3 separate regions of the Homo sapiens genome follow, and regions 2 and 3 are each linked to region 1. The links are contacts of gene promoters, found by promoter capture Hi-C in blood cells and fetal thymus (Javierre and others, 2016). All regions are on one chromosome and are shown on one strand. The core of a region is centred on a gene start or on the middle of the fragment in contact, and the rest is flanking DNA. Distances in the headings are between cores, read along the strand shown.

Region 1 (3,673 bases), core at 662-3,161:
CAGAAATGGAATACAATCATATTTTTATATGGTTTCTAGCTCTCCTCTCTCCTGCCTTAAATATCTTGACCTCATTCTGGCTGTCTCACTACTAAATAGGCAAATTTACTTTTAGCAAGGCTGCTTCTGTTAAGACTGTGCCTCCATCTCCTGGACAAATTTGGAATAGCAAGAAATTTGTTAGGAAAGGGACTTTTCCAGGCAGCAGCCGCTTAGAGCTGGCCGCTTCTGAGCATGTTCGTCTTCCCAGGCCTGGCTCACATTTTCAGTGCTTAATGCGCATGGCGCTTTATGCGCAATATTACTTAATTCTTCCCTCAGCCATTGGGAGCTAAGGACAAACTGTTATCCCAATTTTACAGGTGAGGAAATCAGAGCTTATTTAAATAAATTGCCGAGGTCACACAACTAGTAAGCGACAAAATCTCAGTCAAACCGAGGCTCTTTTGGTTCAAAGATGTGTATTGAGCTCTACTCTGCTCTGCAGGGACAGAACTAAGTATGTTTGCTATTCAGGGGATACACAGTCATTCCATGAGCAAGTTACACAATGTAAAATAAGGACATTGTGAAAAACAAAACCATACCGTACATAATGCACTTTATAGTAAAGTACTGGGAACAGAGTATTTGGTAAATTGTAACTATAATAATAATTTTAAACAGATCCACAAATCACACTTATTATTATATTCTGTTTCACCCGGGCTTTGCCAAGCTTCCCACATTTGTACTAGATCCTCTTGGCTTTAGTTTCTCCCCAGTTCTCTACCCTTTGAATTCACTCCAAAGCTTCCCTAGAATCTTTGCTCTCCTAGAAATTAGATTAAACAGGCACCTGCTCACATCATACATCCCCTGCCCTTGTCACCAGACATGCACACATCCATCTTCTGGGATTTCCGTTCTCTTGCAGAAAAGTCTGCATGGGAAGCTGAGGCAGAACCAAGTCCACCAGACTCCGAGGAAAGAGAAGTCTGGACCCTGTAACCAGATAAAAGTGAAACCAGGACTTCATTTATTCCACAAATACTTTTTGACTACCTATAGATGACAGGCACTGTTCAAGGCATTGAGGTTCCCACAGTGAACAAAAGAGACAAAAACGTCTGCCTTTGTGAGTTTATATCATAGTGGAAGGAAATAGACAATAAAAATAAGTAAAATATAGACATTGGTATGTAGATGGTGATAAATGATAAGGAGAAATATAAAGACAGATCGGAAGTGACAACAGTGGGGAAGTGGAATTGGTATCTGCATTTAACGTTGTTTTTTAACAGCAAATTCAGGATGGGGCAGAGAGCAGTGAGAAAAATGAGGCCCTTATGCTCAGCGCCCCCAACCCCGCCTCGGTGGGGTCACTATTCATTTTGGAACATTGCCCTTGGGACCAACATATTCTCAGTGGTCCTTGTGAAGGTTTCCACCCTAAGTCCCTCATCCTCACCAGGCAATATTCATTACCCTACAGCAAACTCCGGAGGCAACGCGGAGAAAGTGTGAATCAATTCAAGACTAAGGTTGCCAAAATGTTTGATCAGCTCTGCGTCAGCCTTGACATTACATTACATTACAGATCCCCTGATCGCCACCGTCGCAGAAGCTCTGAATTAAAAGCGTGCATGTAGCTGCACATCCATTGCTGGCACTTCTTCCGTTAGCCTCCGCTGGAACTGGTTAGTGAGGACCCCTCCATTTCACAAGACAGCTTCGGTTTTGCTTCGTTTTGACTTCCGCACCCCGAAGCTGTAGCACCAGTTTGTTTTCTCACGGCACAGGGGCGGCTTCCGGGGCGCGGCGTGCTGGGGGTTGTAGTCCGCGCTCTGCCTCCTACTTCCATTACAGAAGGCGATGGGCCGAGAGCTGAGGAACTACAACTCCTAGAGTACTCCGCGCCGCCGGGACGCCGCGCGGCTGCGGGGCTGGGCGAGCGCAAAGATGTCCGCGCCCGCTGCCGGGAGGCGAGGTGAGTCTTTGATCGTAACCAGGAGCCCGGAGCTGAGGCAGTTCCTGCACGTGTCGCGGGGCCGGAGAAGCTAGGGCCAGGTATTCCAGGGATGCAAGAATCCTGCAAATCTGACGTGTAAACTGCTTCCCCAGCCTCCAGGCGAGCCCAGCTTTTGCCTCAGATAGGCCCCTTCCTTTTCCTTCTCGGGGAATCGACCTCGGGAAGGGGTGTGGGCAAAGAGATGAGGACTCTCCCTCTTCGCCCAGGCCAACTCGGGATATCCCGGAGCCTCTGGGGAGGCGGTCACTCCGACGTCTGAGGACCTGGGCCTTGGACCCGGACTCGTTATGAAGAGCGATTCTTCGACCTCTGCAGCCCCCCTCAGGGGGCTCGGGGGACCCCTGCGCAGCAGCGAGCCGGTGCGCGCGGTCCCGGCCCGGGCGCCGGCCGTGGACCTTCTGGAGGAGGCGGCCGACCTCCTGGTGGTGCACCTGGACTTCCGGGCGGCGCTGGAGACCTGCGAGCGGGCCTGGCAGAGTCTGGCCAACCACGCCGTGGCAGAGGAACCCGCGGGCACGTACGTGCTGGGCTCGGAAATGAACCGATTTCCGGGCGCTCTTGTGGTGGGGCTCAAGGTCTCAGGAGTTCTGTCCTTCCCAGATTGCCCACAAGGAGCTTTACACCTCGCTTTCATCAGTGGTTTGTCTCCGAGAGGGTGGTCGCTCATCGTGTGCCCATTCTACAGAGAAGGGAAGTCGTGTAACAAAAACTTAGTGGGGATCCCACAGCCAATTATTTGCTCCTTGTTCCAAGGTACAATGACATGATGGGAAGGCTGAATGTGTATTAAGTGCTAAGTTCTGTCAGTAAGCAGGTGGTAAAAGTCCTCTCCCAGGTACCTCCGCCCTCCCCGCCCCGCCCAAGGTTGTTTATTCCTGACCTTGGCTGATGATGGGGAATGGGGGTCATGGCAGGAGCAGCGTTCTGGTCCAATTAGAGGACTGGATTAAAGAATTAATTCAGGGCCGGGAGCTGGGGCTTACGCCTGTAATCCCAGCACTTTGGGAGGCCGAGGCAGGAGGATTGCTTGAGCCCAGGAGTTCGAGACCAGCCTGGGTAACATAATGAGCCCTCTTCTCTACCAAAAAGAAGAAAAAGAAAAGAATCCGGAGAAAAAAACCTTGGGCTTGCATTGCTCTTTCTAATGCCACCAGCCTCGTCTGGCAGGTGAGGGAGTCATTTCTTTGCATTGTAAACTTGGGTTAGGCCACGCTAGGGAGGTGGTAGGTAGAATAGCTAAAGTTGACCACAAAGAAGGATGATCTGGAGAGCCCTGGCTGTGTTTTAGGGGACTGGGTGGGAGCTCATTTCAGTGAATGCAGAAGGCTTTGCTTCTGGGTGTCTGGAGGAACCTTACTAGGTGGTGCCTTTTAGCCAGCTATGGAGTCTATACCTCCACTCAGCCAGAAACCTTGCTCCAAGCCCATTTGTTCACAGAGCAAACTCTTAGTTCCAGCTCTCTTTTCAGCCACACACCGGTGCTGTGTGTTATTTCCCCCTCAGGATTACCCTTCCTCTTCATTTAAATCTGATTTCACCTGGATACAAAGATGAACGTTGAGCAACAGCTGACTTGCCTCTTGAAAGAGGGTTACAGGAACTTTTAGTTCCTGGGGGAAAGGGCAGCCCATGAGACCAATTGTGAAGCCCATCTAAATACTA
Region 2 (3,673 bases), core at 383-2,882, 240 kb before region 1:
TAGATGCTGACTGATTTCATGTTTTCTGTGCTGCCCTCCTGTCATACCTGCCATAAATGCCAGGGGTTAGCCTTCCTGGAATGTCCTTGCTACATTACATGAACTTGCTGCCCCACTGCCTCTCACAATTTATAAATTACAGTGGAGAAAATGGTGCTGACCCACACTCAGCCCAAGGTCAAGCCAGTAGCTCTGCTCAAGGGTTTATAAATGTGTTTTGACACACAGCATCTCTCACCCTCACTGCAGGGTCAGTGGAGAGAGAGAGTGGGCTCCCCCTCATCTGGGCACAGTGGGGAGAGTGGGGCCTCCATGGGTGCTCTGGATAGGGAAGCAGAGTTCTGGATGAGGATGCACCATCAGTGACAGCTTTGGAACTGCAGACACCAAGGCAGAGGCTGCCCCCGGCATGCACGGAGGAGCGGTCTGTGAGGCAGCCCAAGAATGAATCTAGGCAGAGGGTGTCTGACATGAGGGCTGAGGTGGCGGGTGCAGCTGAAAGCAGCTCGGCCCAGCAAACACCTTCTGGAAAGCGTTCTTGGACCTTAAAAAAACTGCTCTGCTCTCCTTATCCCCACATGTTCCCTTCATCATGGCTAAATCAAGGTGTGTGATTCAAATGCTCTCCAAGGCCACTTGAGGCCTCTGCCCCTCGGGTTTGCAGCCTGTGTTTCTGTCCTGAAGCCCCACAGGACACCGGACCCCCTTTTGATTCTTGGCTCTCTTGATCATCTGTAATCGGCTGAACACTTTGAAGCCTTCGCTGATACTGGAAGCCCTGGGGTGCAGGGCAGTGGATATAGGGAGTCCTAGGGTTATAGCATGCACATCCCCAAAGGTGTCACCCAGCTGGATGTGATTACAGCTCTGGAACTGCCTAAGCATGCATCCACTGGTGCTGCATGCGGCCCCTGGGGCACACATTTTCAGTCCCTTTCTTTACCTACAGGAGAAAAAAAGATGCCTGGGGGACGGACTAGGCCTCCCTCAAGACGGCCCGGTGCACTGGTGGCTGAATCACCCAGAGTCCCTCCCCGTGTGCCCGTCCTTCCCTCTGCTGAATCTGTGAATAACCCGGGGGCAGAGCCTGCCACTTTCCTTCCCAATGACAGACTTGGAGCTGGGGACATGTCAGGTCCTCAAGGAATAAATACTTCCTGAATCTCTGAATTGAGTCTGATGGAGGAGTCCTCACTGACTAGAAGATGAGGCTAAGAACCTAAAAGGGACTGGGGAGAATGGACTGCGGGCAGCAGGAAAGACAGGAGGCCTCCCTTCACTGAGAAGAAACCGAGACACACAGAGGTGAGGAGGCTCTTAGGGCCGTGTGGCGGGTGGGCGCCCTGCAGCCCTGCGTGCTGACCTGCTGGCGACGTCCTCCTCGGCGCCCGTGTCCAGCACGCTGCTCAGGTTGTGCTCGGCCTGAGTCTCCTCCGGTACCTCCTGCAGTGCCTCAGCCTGCCTCAGGGACAGGCGGTAGTTCTCCAGCTCGATCCGCTCTGGGGTGCCCCTCAGTCGCTTGGCGATGCTGGGCTCCTCCAGGCCGTTCACGCCTGAACCTGCGGGACAAGCACAGAAGCACTGCACTGAGGTCCAACCACAGACGGGGCGTGGGGGTGGGGGCTGACACCCAGGCTGCAGGCCCTCCTGCCAGAATGTGGGGCAGGACAAAGGTCAGAGCATTTGCAGAGTTGCCAGAGGCCAGAGAAGGACCCTGGCATGTGAGAGGGAATTTCACTCTGCAGGAGAAAGGAAGGTGGCCCTGTCTGCCCTCCAGGTCAGAGCGTTCTCTCTCCTTCATCACCCTGAACCCGGCCCCCAGAGGGGAGACGCAGTCTCCCCACAAGAGTGACTGGTGGTGAGGGGTGTGGGCCAGACCGCAGGCAGCCAGGAGCCAGGTGCCCCTGAAGCAGCCTTGCCTGAGAAGGGCATCCCCGGTGCAGTCTGCCCCAGGGATCCAGGCCCCCACCAGGTGCCTCCCCCAATGCCTGCCCCGGGATCCAAGTCCCCACCAGGCACGTGCCCCACCACTGAGGGGGCCTGGCCAGCTGCCTGAAGAACGTCTCATGCTGCGGATCTGTCTCCTCACAGTTAGATAAGGCACTTTCGGTTTCATAAGGCCACGTGGGCGATGCTGCCCCTACCGCAGCACCGCTGCTCAGAGGAAGGACACCAGGCCCGACCGCTCACAGAGGTGGCACCCAGGCCTCTCTGCGATGCACAGGCACACTTCCCCATCAGTCCTCCGTGGGCTTCTGAAGCCACGGGGTGCCCTGCCTGCGTCCTTTCACCCTGTGGTTTCAGCATCGTCGGCGATCTTGGCCGGAGTCCTTTGTGTGCACAGGGCGTCACACCAGGTGATTTTAAAATCCCATCACTCTGGCTGGGTGCGGTGGCTCACGCCTGTAATCCCAGCACTTGGGGAGGCCGATGCAGGTGGATCACGAGGTCAGCAGATCAAGGCCATCCTGGCTAACACAGTGAGACCCCATCTCTACTAAAAATACAAAAAATTAACCAGGCACGGTGGCGGGCGCCTGTAGTCCCAGCTACTCGGGAGGCTGAAGCAGGAGAATGGTGTGAACCTGGGAGGCGGAGCTTGCAGTGAACCGAGATTGCGCCACTGCACTCCAGCCTGGGTGACAAAGCGAGACTTCATCTCAAAAAAAAAAAAAAAAAAAAAAATCCCATCACTCCTCCTCCACTACCATTCTTTGGTAAAGAAGCACTTTTCCCATTTTTAACTTTATACTTTCAAGTACTGCTATGGACTCGGATTTTTGAAAATGTGTTTTACAACTGTGCTTTGGTCTCCTTTAACATGGAACAGTTCTGCTGCCTCCCTTATCATCACCACTATTCTCTGTTGACGTCCCTTGTCCTCCTGATCCTGGTCAGAGGAGGCTGTCATGAGTCCTCTGGTGTGTCCCCTGTAATGTGAGTAGCACCGGGTCCAGGTGGAGGCGGGCAACCCCAGGTCAGATTTCCTCATCTTCCAGATGCCTGGCTCCACCAGTAGTTGGCTGAAGGGTCTTAGAAAATTTACAGAACTCCTCAGAGCTCGTTTCCTGATAGATAAATGATGGCACCACCCACCTCCCAGAGCCGTCATGGACACCGAGTGACACGATGCACACATACTCATGTGGGGGTGCGTGTTGACCCTGCACCCCACACACACGGTCACCTTCCTCTTCCACTTAACGCCTGCCACCTGGGGAGTGCCCAGGAAACATGAGTGAAGCAGCAAGTCTGGTGTCCAGTAATATTTCCCCACCACTGTGTGCATACTCCTGGAAAGCTGCATCCACAGGCTCTGGAGAGCGAACAGTCGTTACTGAGAAACAGGGCTGAGGCACAGTGCCATGTGGTAGCAGCCTGGTGTTACCAGACATTTTTTTTTTTTGAGACGGAGTCTCGCTCTGTCGCCCAGGCTGGAGTGCAGTGGCACGATCTCTGCTCACTGCAACCTCCGCCTCCCAGGTTCACGCCATTCTCCTGCCTCAGCCTCCCGAGTAGCTGGGACTACGGGCGCCTGCCACAGCACCCGGCTAGTTTTTTTGTATTTTTAGTAGAGACGGGTTTCACCATGTTAGCCAGGATGGTCTCAATCTCCTGACCTCGTGATCCGCCCGCCTCGGCCTCCCAAAGTGCTGGGATTACAAGCGGGAGC
Region 3 (3,673 bases), core at 560-3,059, 200 kb before region 1:
CATGCAAGGCTTCCGTTTTGCTTTTAACTGTCCTTCCCTCATGCTTGCAGCAGAGCACACCCTGGAACGCGGTCCCGCAGCTGTGGGCCGCCCGGCACAGCCTCGGCCTCCCTCTGAATGGGTAAGGCAGCCTGCAGGAAGGGCAGGGGGATGGCTTGTCGACTCACATGCTCTGTGCTCTGCCAAGCAACCCCCGGCCTGAGCTGGGATTTCTCCAGGGCAAAAAGATTCTCCCGCCACCCTATCACTCCATTGGCCTTAGAAGTAGCAGGCAGCGGAGACAGCAAATCTAGAGTGAAGCTCGCTCCTTCTACAGAAGGGCCAGGAATGCAGCATCTCTTCCTTCCACTTAGTGCTCAGAGAGGCTCTGCTTGCCAAAGAGCCAGCTGAATCCCAAGCAAAGATGAGGAGAAAAGACTTGAGCCCAAATCCTCTGCAGACTGCACATAGCACACGTAACAAAACTGGGCAAGGGTCTCCCTTAGCCGTGGGCCCATGCAGCTAGGAACCCAGTCCCCAGAGATTGAGGCAGTGACCGAAAGCTTTGGCAACCAATAACTGCTTCATTTCCCACCAGGTTCAGAATGAACTATTTACAGGTGGGAAGGACAGCATTAAGTCATGATGCTAGAAAGCCCTCTGCTCCTCCAGCTCCAAGCCAGATTGGTCACACTCCCTACCTCAGCCACGTGCACTTCATAGCTCCGTGGGGTGGCGACATAGACTGGCAGTTACCTGGTACTTCAACACCCTCTGCTTGAGACACTCAGCCAGCTCCTTGGCCCTGGGCTCAGCAACACAGGCCCCAGAGGGAGCTGGAGAGGATGGCTGTAAGCACCGCCCCTCAGAAGGAAGCAAGAGGGAGACTCAGTAGCCCCCTGGGGGGCAGAGCAGTCAGAGCCAAGGGGAGGAGTGGGGGACTGGGTAGGACTGGGTAGAGGTGGGGCAGAGAGGGCAAGTACACATGCAGGGTTATGGAGGTTAGGGAGGTTATGGAGGTTAGGGAGCTTATGGAGGTTAGGGAGGTTAAGGAGGTTAGGGAAGTTATGGAGGTTAGGGAGGTTAGGGAAGTTATGGAGGTTAGGGAGGTTAGGGAGGTTATGGAGGTTAGGGAGGTTAGGGAGGTTATGGAGGTTAGGGAGGTTAGGGAGGTTAGGGAGGTTATGGAGGTTAGGGAGGTTAGGGAGGTTATGGAGGTTAGGGAGGTTAGGGAGGTTATGGAGGTTATGGAGGTTAGGGAGGTTATGGAGGTTAGGGAGGTTAGGGAGGTGAGGGAGGTTATGGAGGTTATGGAGGTTATGGAGGTTAGGGAGGTTATGGAGGTTAGGGAGGTTATGGAGGTTAGGGAAGTTATGGAGGTTATGGAGGTTAGGGAGGTTATGGAGGTTAGGGAGGTTATGGAGGTTAGGGAGGTTATGGAGGTTAGGGAGGTTATGGAGGTTAGGGAGGTTAGGGAAGTTATGGAGGTTAGGGAGGTTATGGAGGTTATGGAGGTTAGGGAGGTTATGGAGGTTAGGGAGGTTAGGGAGGTTAGGGAAGTTATGGAGGTTAGGGAGGTTATGGAGGTTAGGGAGGTTATGGAGGTTAGGGAGGTTAGGGAGGTTATGGAGGTTAGGGAGGTTAGGGAGGTTATGGAGGTTAGGGAGGTGAGGGAGGTTATGGAGGTTAGGGAGGTTAGGGAAGTTATGGAGGTTAGGGAGATTATGGAGGTGAGGGAGGTTATGGAGGTTAGGGAGATTATGGAGGTTAGGGAGGTTATGGAGGTTAGGGAGGTTATGGAGGTTAGGGAGGTTAGGGAGGTGAGGGAGGTTATGGAGGTGAGGGAGGTTATGGAGGTTAGGGAGGTTAGGGAAGTTATGGAGGTTAGGGAGGTTATGGAGGATGGCAGCAGAGTCCAAGAAAAGAACTTAAGTAGTGTCCTCAAAAGTATCCAGCCTGGAGCCCTGCACTGAGGAGTGCAGAAACCAGTTCAGAGGGAAAAAGAGAGAAACATCTCTGCAAGCCTTATTGCCTCCTGAGCTCAAAAACCCTAACTCATCCCCTCTCTGCACCACAGCCCTAAACTTCAAATTGTTTCTCACTGCCAATCTCTCCTATTCAACATGCTCCCCTCCCTTCTTCTTTTTTTTGAGACCGAGTCTGATTCTGTCGCCCTGGCTCTGTCGCCCAGGCTGGAGTGCAGTGGCGCGATCTTGGCTCACTGCAAGCTCTGCCTCCTGGGTTGATGCCATTCTCCTGCCTCAGCCTCCCCAGTGGCGGAGACTACAGGCACCCGCCACCATGCCTGGCTAATTTTTTTGTATTTTCAGTAGAGACAGGTTTTCACTGTGTTAGCCAGGATGGTCTCGATCTCCTGACCTCGTGATCTGCCTGCCTCGGCCTCCCAAAGTGCTGGGATTACAGGCCTGAGCCACCGCACCCGGCCTTCCCCTCCCTTCTTCTTTTAGGCGCTGTTTCATTAAACATTATCAGCATCTCATTAAATACACAATCTGCAAAATGGAGGGCACTGCCCTGCTCAGTGAAAAGGGCTGCTTTCCTTTTTGAGGGGACACAGCCTGGGAAGAAGAGAGAAAGAGGCTGGGCACACAGCGCCGTGGGAGAGCAGCCCCAGAAAGGGTGAGCACCGTGGGGCGAGGCCATGGAAAGGGGGTGGGAAAGACCCCCACCTCCAGCCCAGTCTCCACTCTCCGACCCAGCACCAGGTTCAGGCAGCACACACATTGCCCGCTGCTAGCCTGGTGAGAGGGCGCAGGAAGATGGCACTATGATTAGCTCCTATCGGGTCCGAGGGGTAACCTAATTTACTGCTTGGCCATAACTGCATTTCTCAGAGAGCAAAGGCAGAAGGGAGTTAGAAACCAAAATGGCTTTTGTGAGATTAACAACTAGAGATGATTCTTCCCGCTAGCTGCAGAGCTGTACCCACTTGGAGATCTTTAAGGGTAGGAATAACAAGAACAAAAGTTTCATAAAGTAAGCCGGCTTCTTTAACTGGGCATCTCGGCTATCCCTCACATTGTACGATGGCCAGCTGCAATCAGTAATTTCTCCCCTCAGTGTTTCAGAAAAGACTAAAGCTTTCCACGGGTACAGCCCCATTTTGCCATCACCTACCTTTCTCCCCCTCATTCTCATCCCACTGGAAAAATCCTCACGCTGGTAAGAGCTTTGGCTCTCTTAGGATTTCCACTTCAAGATCCGTGACTGCTGAATGCCACTTGAATACTGATTTAGACCCTCTCCCTAAGAAGTTGTATCTGACAGTCCAATGCTACTACTCTACCACTGGCACATAGTTTGGGGGTAGAAATAGTATGGTCTTGGAAGGGGAACAGTGGGCAGAAATGGGAAGTCATTAAGGCCCTTTACAATACGCACATTTAGGATCAGCATCCCATCTGAATGCCAGATGGGTGACTGCTTTACAGTGAATGCTATTTGCATTGGTCAACACTGCTAGCAAAAAGAATTCTGGCTCTTGGCTGGGTGACAAGAGCGTGCAAAAAGCAAGGGGAGGGGGCCGTCCCCCATATCCCTTCCCGCTGCCCCACCACCACAGCGTGCCCCGTGTGCTTGGCTCTCAGCATCCCATGCCACGGGTTCATGCTCTTTTACCCTCTCATGGTGGGGGCTCTGCTTGCCACGGTTGTCAGCATCAAGATCCCTGTAT

The links. Contacts are between HindIII fragments. The CHiCAGO score rates a contact against its expected background, and 5 or more counts as called.
Region 2: a contact is called between a fragment that was not itself captured here and the fragment with the promoter of PEX26 in region 1, in 16 of 17 cell types (total CD8 T cells, naive CD8 T cells, megakaryocytes and 13 more). The highest score is 24.8, in total CD8 T cells.
Region 3: a contact is called between a fragment that was not itself captured here and the fragment with the promoter of PEX26 in region 1, in 7 of 17 cell types (total B cells, naive B cells, M1 macrophages and 4 more). The highest score is 12.3, in total B cells.

Annotation. Positions count from the first base shown.
Region 1 is chr22:18,076,079-18,079,751 of GRCh38, forward strand. It overlaps PEX26 (peroxisomal biogenesis factor 26), which reads left to right and starts at 1,912. Exons shown (of 5, transcript NM_001127649.3): 1 at 1,912-2,528. The coding sequence starts at 2,299. LOC105372853 (a long non-coding RNA gene) reads left to right here. Exons shown (of 6, transcript XR_001755424.2): 6 at 1,580-1,818. RefSeq lists enhancers at 1,586-1,645, 1,976-2,205, 2,686-2,735 and a silencer at 2,276-2,325. The HindIII fragment of the contact is 13,258 bases long and covers 791-3,673 here.
Region 2 is chr22:17,840,459-17,844,131 of GRCh38, forward strand. MICAL3 (microtubule associated monooxygenase, calponin and LIM domain containing 3) reads right to left here. Exons shown (of 32, transcript NM_015241.3): 20 at 1,364-1,559. Among named protein-coding and RNA genes, the nearest start is that of LINC00528, 65 kb to the left of the region's middle. The HindIII fragment of the contact is 7,527 bases long and covers 1-3,673 here.
Region 3 is chr22:17,875,728-17,879,400 of GRCh38, forward strand. All of the region lies in intron 16 of MICAL3 (microtubule associated monooxygenase, calponin and LIM domain containing 3), which reads right to left. Among named protein-coding and RNA genes, the nearest start is that of LINC00528, 100 kb to the left of the region's middle. The HindIII fragment of the contact is 2,538 bases long and covers 541-3,078 here.